Linked DNA regions of Homo sapiens: all the other regions are linked to region 2. The links are contacts of gene promoters, found by promoter capture Hi-C in blood cells and fetal thymus (Javierre and others, 2016). All regions are on one chromosome and are shown on one strand. Each heading gives the region's core, a stretch centred on a gene start or on the middle of the fragment in contact. The rest is flanking DNA. Distances are from core to core; before and after follow the strand shown.

Region 1 (2,700 bases), core at 131-2,630, 1.4 Mb before region 2:
ACTCAGCACTTCCTTTGCGATTCAGGTTCTTTGGCAGAACAAAGACTCATGGGGTTTTGTTCTGATAGTTAATGGAAGAGAGAAATTTTCCCAAGGAGGTAGAGATCCCCAGGCAAAGTAACGATGGGAATGTTGACGATTTGAACTTGCCTGCATTGTGCCAGCATTGCTGGGTGAAAGAAGTTTCCTCTTAGGCCTTACAGTGGAAGTGGTCGGAAAGAAATACAATTACAGGGCTGAATAAAAGTGATACCCTGGCCGGGTGCGGTGGCTCACGCCTGTAATCCCAGCACTTTGGGAGGCCGAGGTGGGTGGATCATGAGGTCAGGAGATCGAGACCATCCTGGCTAACACGGTGAAACCCCGTCTCTACTAAAAATACAAAAAAATTAGCCGTACGTAAATGCACCTGTCGTCCCACCTACTCGGGAGGCTGAGGCAGGAGAATCGCTTGAACCCAGGAGGCAGAGGCTGCAGTAAGCCAAGATCCTGCCACTGCACTCCAGCCTGGGCGACAGAGTGAGACTTCGTCTCAAAAAAAACAGTGACACCCTAAGATTTTCTTTTGCTGACACATGTCACTTTAAAAAAATAAAATTTAGAATATGATAGTCACATGTAGGTTGACTCATATAATTGCTCCTTATTTCATATTTAACTGTTTTCTGAAAAAAAAAAAGTTTTTCTCTTCCTCTTTTATGAAAGGAGAATTTCATAGTCCTAAGAAAAGTGACATTTAAATATTTGATCAGGAGATTTTTTGGTGGCTTGGAGAGGTTGTGTTGTGTTTATATTGAGATGCATATTTGTTTGTACTAATTACCCTAGGATTGCTTTATGAGGGTGCTCAAAATAAATGCTTACAAAGGTAGGGCAGGTAACAGAAATGAGTAACAAGGACCTGGTGAAGAACTAGGGTGTTTGGCTCCTTTCAAGGGACAGCCACTGTGTCACTAGCCCTGTGAGAATGCCTGATCATGTGGTTGTCACGTCTTTCAGTTGTCATTGTTGTTGTTGTTGTTGTTGAGACGGAATCTCACTCTTGCCCAGGCTGGAGTTCAGTGGCATGATCTCAGCTCACTGCAACCTCTGCCTCCTGGGTTCAAGCGATTCTCCTGCCTCAGCTTCCCGAGTAGCTGAGATTACAGGCTCGCGCTACCATGCCCAGCTAATTTTTGTATTTTTAGTAGACACAGGGTTTCACCATGTTGGTCAGGCTGGTCTCGAACTCCTGACTTCAGGTGATCCGCTGCCTTGGCCTCCCAAAATGCTGGAATTACAGGCATGAGCCACCACTCCCAGTTTGTCCTTCAGTTTTAAAGAGAAACTATAAATTGGATATTTTATTAAAGCCCTTTAAAGCCGACAAATAATTCAGATTTCAAATCAAAGCCCCGTGCACTGTGTGCTCCTGCACACTATGCTTCTCTCTTGTATCATTTTCATTTAATTCTTGGCAATTTTGTGTTTACCAACTGCCAGGGAGCCCAAGGAATTTAGCCGTCACCTCAAACTTAACCAAACTTACAACCTTTGGGCCCAAACCTGCTCCCTCTCTGGACTCTTTTTGCTGTCTATATTGGCCTCTGTGTTGCAATCATTTCTGGACTGAACAAGGCCTTGGTGTTTTTTCTCCTTTGTTCTTCTCACCATAGTTCCCCCAAACCTGAGTCTGTTGATTTTGTCTCAAGAATTTGCCTGTTTTCTGTTCCCTTCCTTCCTGTTCCAGCTACCCCCATTGCTAGCCTGCCTACTGCTCCTCTGATCCAGATTCTGTCCCCATTCTAGTTCCTGTAGCGTTGTCCAGCCAGGTTGATCATCTTTTTCTAATACCTGTTTCGTTATCTTCCTACTCAAAAAATTCTATGTGTCTTTGTTGCCTACCATGTAAATTTCACTAATTCTGCCTAGATCTCAGGGCTTCATAGTAGTTTTATCTTGGCTGTCTAAAGTTCCCCCCGGCACTTCTTAACCCATTGGTCCATTAAAGCCAACTCTATTTCCCCAATTCAGCCCTCTGTCAGGGGCTGCCAGGAATCTCGTGGGAGTTTCTGGATAATGGGTAGATCCTTTCCCTAGGCCTTGGCTGTTGAGATGATGTAGATTCTGGAGTTTTCAAATCTTTTTCTTTTTTCTTTTTATTTTTTAATAAACCTCTATTACCATTTGGCCCCAACACCTCAAGGCAAGAAGGAAGTGGAATAAAGGAAGACTCCTGAATCCACCTCTAACTGGGGAAGAGGCTGGGAGGGAAGAGGGCTGCTTTGAGGTCCTCAGATTCACAGTATACCCAAGGTGAGGCTTCTCCATCAGAGACTTTGGGATGGAGAGGCCTTCTTTTACTACCTTTGAGAGTTCCTTCTTCAACAGCTTTCTGCTTCTCTCCCTCCAGCTGAGACCAGAAATTTTTGCTTCATTTATGTGAAGCTGTGCTAACCACAGACATTTTGCAATCTGAATGCAGTGTATGCTCATTCTCCTTGCAGCCCACCCAGTTGTGCATGTCCTTGGATAGTTGTGTGATTGACTAAGTCACTTCAATCAACTAGAGCAACTTGTAGGTTAATAGGTGAACTTCCCTATTCAGAAAAGTCTTCAGATAATTTCTTGTTTTGATGAAATGCTGGTAATTCGCTGCAACATTCTTTCTTGCCTCTCTCCTTTGCATTTTGTTTAGACCCCTGATGTATATATAACACA
Region 2 (2,700 bases), core at 11-2,510:
TTTCATCAAAAGCCACCTACTTAAGTATGAACAATGACCAAAGAATGACAAATCAAAATTCTGGGCACTATACTAAGAGAAAACTCTTCCAGAACACATACTTAAGAATTAATTTTCTCTCTGAATTTGGCCAAGTTTGGTGGTTTCATTCACAACATTTAAGGAAAAAAATGATGGTTTATGGCTAGCAGATAATAAAACAAACCTTTATACCACTTACTAAATAGAAACGGTTTAGGCTCACAAATATGTTAAAGCTTTCTCTTTCCCCGCAATGGTAGCCAAGCAGCATAAACGAATCAACATTTCCTCAGTTCAGACCTCAACTGGTTACAGGCAAGCAAGGGCTCCTCAGAATTTGCTTTACTAACGGTTTAGGTCAGAAATTTTTTTGAAGATCAAATGTCTTGCTATGTCTTTGTGTTCTTTTTCCCATCTCTATTACGTTTGTTGCCCTGTTGGTCTCCTAACACTTCCATTTTCTCCTTTTATGTTCCTGCTATGCTCTCCAAATGGCAGTAACCTGAAGTATAACTGATCACACCTCTTGTGATTTTTTTTTATTCTAGGACTTCCCAGATCTGGACTCCGAAGAAGACGCCCAGGTGCAAGCCCAAAGGTTACCTATTTAAATTTTCCAAGCACAGTGTGTAGAAAATCATTCCTCGCCCTTCATTTTGTGTTGCTTAACGGCGCTGTCGTGCCTAAACGTAGATACTGGCCAAGAGCTAGATTTCCAAAATGGCTTTGCTCCTTTCGAGCTGACATCGGTCTATAACATGCAATTTATTTCCCCTGCAGCCAATCTTTCTCTCTACTCCAAATACTACCCGATACGCAGAAAGCTGAACCTAACCCAGTGTAAACACCGACTCTCATCTGCTAAATTCAGCAAGGCCGGCAAAGCTGTTGCACTGATGTAAAAAGAGCGTTAAATCAAAAAACCAAAAAAACAAAAAAAAAAACAAAAAAACGCCAAAACACCCACACGAAGCCAACTGGAGGGGCGGGCGTCGGCCGGATCGCGCCCTCCCGCCGCAGCCACGCCTCCCCGCCGCGGCCACGCCCCCTCCGCCCCTCTCCGCGCCGCCGCCGGCGGCCTCCGCGCGGGCCTCCCAGCCCTTATTCCACTCACTTTGTTCTCCGCCTTTGTCCTAATCCACACCAGCAGGTGGAGCCGCAGTTAAAGTTTCCGAGTCCATTCCGGGAGCGGGAGCCCATCTTGCTGGCTGCCGAGGCCCTCGCTGGAGGAGGAGGGTCAGAACTCGGGTGCAGCCAATCGAGGGCAACGCTGCTACTTATCAGAGCAGAATGGGCTGTAGTTTAGTGAAATAGGAAAGCTGCAAAACACTGTGGAGTGCTCCCGTGTAAATAAAAAGAGGAAAAAAGTTTCTCAAGTCGCCGCTGCACGACGTCTGGCCGGCGCTGGAGCGGGGGTCTGCGCTCTCCCGAGCGGCCGCGCGCTGGACTTTATTGTGCCGCAACCAGCCCCAGTTCCCATTGTTTGTGTTTTTTTCAAAATATGGCAAAGGTTCAGGTGAACAATGTAGTGGTGCTGGATAACCCTTCTCCTTTCTACAACCCGTTCCAGTTCGAGATCACCTTCGAGTGCATCGAGGACCTGTCTGAAGGTGAGTGCGGCGCCCGTGCGCCCGGGCTGTCAGTTGCGGGCTGCAGACGTTGAAAGTTTCCCGGGCCGGGCCTCGCGCTGGGCGGCTGTGTTCGGCGCCTGGCGGCCGCGGGCTGCTCTGCGGAGGGAAACTTGAAGTTGATGGACGACGGCCGCCGAGGCGCGCGCGGCTTTCCGCCGCAGCCCAGGCGCCTGCCGGGCTCAACTTGCGAGGAACTTGTTTGAGCGGAGGAGCGGAGGTAGCCATGTTGTCAGCTTTGTCTGCGGGCGGGCAGCTCGGAGACCCGCACTCGCTCCCGCTGCGCCGCCTGAGGTCGCGCCGGGCTGGCTCCGCGCCGCCAACAGCCTCCGCGACCCTCCGGGCCCGAGCACGGAGGCTGGGAAGGGAGAGGCTGTGCGTGTGGTCGCGCCGGCGAGTTCGGAGCGGAGCCATCTTACCCCGAGTCGAGAATTGGGCCAGCGACCCCGGCGCACGGCGCCTCCTCTTGCCCCGCCGCCCGCCTGCCCCCGGCGAAAGGCAGGCAGGCACTCTCGAGAGCTCACGGTGGAGTCGCCGCACTCTCCGGGCTGGCCATGCCTGGCCGCTTCGGGGAGGAGAGCGAGGCTGTCCTCGCGCTGATTTCTGGCTTCCTCGACCAACCAGCGGGGGAGGCGGGCGCAGGCTCGGCCCCTCCGCGCCGCGGGCTGGGCGCCGGCGCTCCCCGGGGGCCGTGGGTCCTGTTCGGCCGGTCCTCCTCGGCCGGCGCCCGGGATGCGCCGGGATGCTGGCGCGCAGGCTCCCCAACCAACGTGGACTCCTTTCCCCTAATGACGAAAAGCTAATTTCAGGAAGAGAAATAGAGCTGAGGTAGGAAGTTACATTTAACCTAAAAGCAGAAATAAGATACTTAAATAATTTCCAGGACTTAATCTCTGCCTTATAAATAGTCTGAAGGAAGACTTTCTTCAAGACCGTGTTGAAATCTAAAATAACTCCACATCCAAATACAGAACACACCCTAAACATAAAACACAAACGTAGGCTAGGAAATTAAGGTCAACTCCTCATGTCAGTCCAAGAATTCTTGGTA
Region 3 (2,700 bases), core at 92-2,591, 1.3 Mb before region 2:
TTTACTTTTTCACCACCATTCAAAGCTCTCCCTTTTTTTCTCACCTAGCTCTACCACCTTTTTCTTTTTGCTGTGACACCTAATATCTTCCAGGCCACTTTTTTCCATTCATTGAGGACATTCACCTAATTCTAGGTCTTCTTCATTCCTCCTTTGTAATCATGCTAGAGAATGAAGTGCCCAACATGGTCATTTTTATGGTTTCTTGACTTCCACTCTAGTAACCTGCTTTCCATTTAAACCACTCCCACACATGTCCACATTCTTGTCATCAGCAAGAACCCCAGCACTGTAAACCTAATCTCCAGCAATTCTCTATCAGCTCAAAACCCCCTGAGTTCTTCAGCTTTCCACCTACTTAGTCACTGATCTCATTTAGATACCAAACCCCTAGATCCCATCATTTTCCTCTAGTTGTTAATCCTTTTGGGTTGCATTTCCTTCCCTATCCATCATCGAACTGGTTTGTCTCAGCATTTTCACTCCATTTTCTTTCCAGGAGCCCCGAACCATGAGACCCCAACAACATAATTCCCCTTGAGAATACCATCTCTCCATCTTCATCACAGCAGCAGGGGAACATTGCAGAACTATTCACACTGTGGCTGTTACAAAAGCTCGGTTTCCAGTTTACTGGGGGCCCATCACTCCTCAACGCTTTTATTTATCTTTGATCCCTTTTTCCGTACCCCTTAGCAATTATTCCAAAGCAGTGCCACTTTTCACACTCTCCCTTACTCTGATCTTGCCACTTCCTTCACCTAAAAATAAAAGTCGTTAAAATCAGAACTAACTTCCTGCTGATTCCTCTTCTCACAAAACCTGTATCCACTTCATTCCTTTCCTCCTTCCTTCCTGTGTCAATGGAAAAAGTGTTAGAAACCTTCATCTGTGATCTTAAATCCCACTGCCTTCCCCTTATCTCTTTGCTCCTATTATCCCTTTTTCCTTTATCTTCTTCTTCCTTTCATTGGAGGTCTCCCCCTCAGCCTTTAAACTTCCTCAAATCTCTCCCAAGTATAAAGAATTCTCCCTTAATATACTAAGCCCTTCTAATTACCTATTGTCTTTCTTCGAACAGTGATCTCTTCTTGGAATTTTTGTCTGCCTTATTTCCATTCATTCTTTTTCTAATGTAGTTTTTAGTCAGTTATATAGGTACACAAAACGTAGTATCCCTTTCCATTTGTTCAAGCCCCTTTTGCATCCTTTCAGGGGATTTTAAAGGGTGCTCACATAAGTACTGCACATTTTTTGTTTAATTTGTACTTAGGTGTTTTTTTTGTTGTTGCTGCCATTGTAAATTGTCCCCACCTCCTCTTTTATGTATCAAGAACTAGTATGGCCTAGTGGTAAAAAGCATGGATTCTGGGGCTTAGACTCCCTGGGCTCAAATTCTGCCTTAGTTGTGACCAAGAAGGACTTACTTTCTATGACTCCATTTCCTTATTTCTAAATGGAGATAATAATGGTATATACCTTATAGGGTTGTGGTGAAGATTACAAGGATTAATGTACATAAAACCCTTACAACAGTGTCTGACCCATGATAAGTGCCACGTGGTGTTAGCTATTATATGCAGCCTTCCTGTTCGATTTCTGTGACTAATTTGTATGCTGCTCCTTTACTAAATGTCCTTATTATTCCTAGTAGCTTTTAGTTGATTCTCTTAGGTTTTTCTGGAATTTGATCACGTTTGCAAATAGTGCTAGTGCTATCTCCTTTCCAATATTTATGTGTACATTTAATTCTATTGGCAATACTTCCAGTACCATATTAAATACTTCTAGTAGCTCCCACCTTAGCATGATGCTGGCTTTTAGGCAGAGATAGATTTATTATGTTGAGGTAAACTTTATTATGTTAAGAAAGCATCTATTTATTCCTTTTTTTCCCCCTCACAAGGAATGTGCTTAATTTTGAGCAAAGTCTTTTCAGCATCTATGGAAAATATGATTTTCCTCCATAGGACTCCTCCCTAGAGCCAGTCAGATGATTAATTACATAATTAGATGTCCCAATGTTAAACATCTGGTTATAGATATGAATCCATTACTGTATTAAATTTGCATGGATAGGATTTTACTTAGGATTTTTACATTAATATTCATTTGTGGGCCAGGTGCAGTGGCTCATGCCTGTAATCCCAGCACTTTGGGAGGCTGAGGCGGGCGGATCATGAGGTCAAGAGATCGAGACTGTCCTGGCCAACATGGTGAAACCCTGTCTCTACTAAAAATATAAAAATTGGCCGGGAGTGGTGGCTTGTGCCTGTAGTCCCAGCTACTCGGCAGGCTGAGGCAGGAGAATCGCTTGAACCTGGGAGGCGGAGGTTGCAGTGAGCCGAGATCGAGTCACTGCACTCCAGCCTGGCAACAGAGCGAGACTCAGTTGCAAAAAAAAAAAAAAAATCTTTTGTGAATCAGGGCTTTTCTTTCTTTGTGGCAATCTTGATCAGATATTATTAGCTTGACAGAAACAATTTAGAATTTTTCTTCCCTTTTTTGGTTCTCTTGCTAGGCATTAGAATTAGCTGTTGTTTGAACGTTTAGTAGCATTGCCCTGTGAAATCATGTATTTTGGTAATTTGTGGGGAGAGCACTTTGACAATTCCTTCAATTTTTCCTATGGAAATTGGTTTGTTTAGATTTTAAAACTTCCTTGGGAACAGTTTTGGTAAATTACATTTTCCTAGAAAA

What was found. The method cuts DNA at HindIII sites, captures the fragments that hold promoters and counts their contacts. A CHiCAGO score of 5 or more calls a contact.
Region 1: a fragment that was not itself captured here is called in contact with the fragment with the promoter of ASF1A in region 2 in 1 of 17 cell types (M0 macrophages); the score reaches 8.1 in M0 macrophages.
Region 3: a contact is called between a fragment that was not itself captured here and the fragment with the promoter of ASF1A in region 2, in 1 of 17 cell types (total CD4 T cells). The highest score is 5.7, in total CD4 T cells.

Annotation. Positions count from the first base shown.
Region 1 is chr6:117,500,329-117,503,028 of GRCh38, forward strand. The region is part of intron 1 of DCBLD1 (discoidin, CUB and LCCL domain containing 1); the gene reads left to right. Among named protein-coding and RNA genes, the nearest start is that of DCBLD1, 19 kb to the left of the region's middle. The HindIII fragment of the contact is 8,436 bases long and covers 1-2,700 here.
Region 2 is chr6:118,892,892-118,895,591 of GRCh38, forward strand. It overlaps ASF1A (anti-silencing function 1A histone chaperone), which reads left to right and starts at 1,261. Exons shown (of 4, transcript NM_014034.3): 1 at 1,261-1,631. The coding sequence starts at 1,523. All of the region lies in intron 8 of MCM9 (minichromosome maintenance 9 homologous recombination repair factor), which reads right to left. RefSeq lists silencers at 996-1,135, 1,926-2,455 and an enhancer at 1,456-1,545. The HindIII fragment of the contact is 9,487 bases long and covers 256-2,700 here.
Region 3 is chr6:117,552,496-117,555,195 of GRCh38, forward strand. It overlaps a transcript of DCBLD1 not described here. Among named protein-coding and RNA genes, the nearest start is that of GOPC, 49 kb to the right of the region's middle. The HindIII fragment of the contact is 6,555 bases long and covers 1-2,700 here.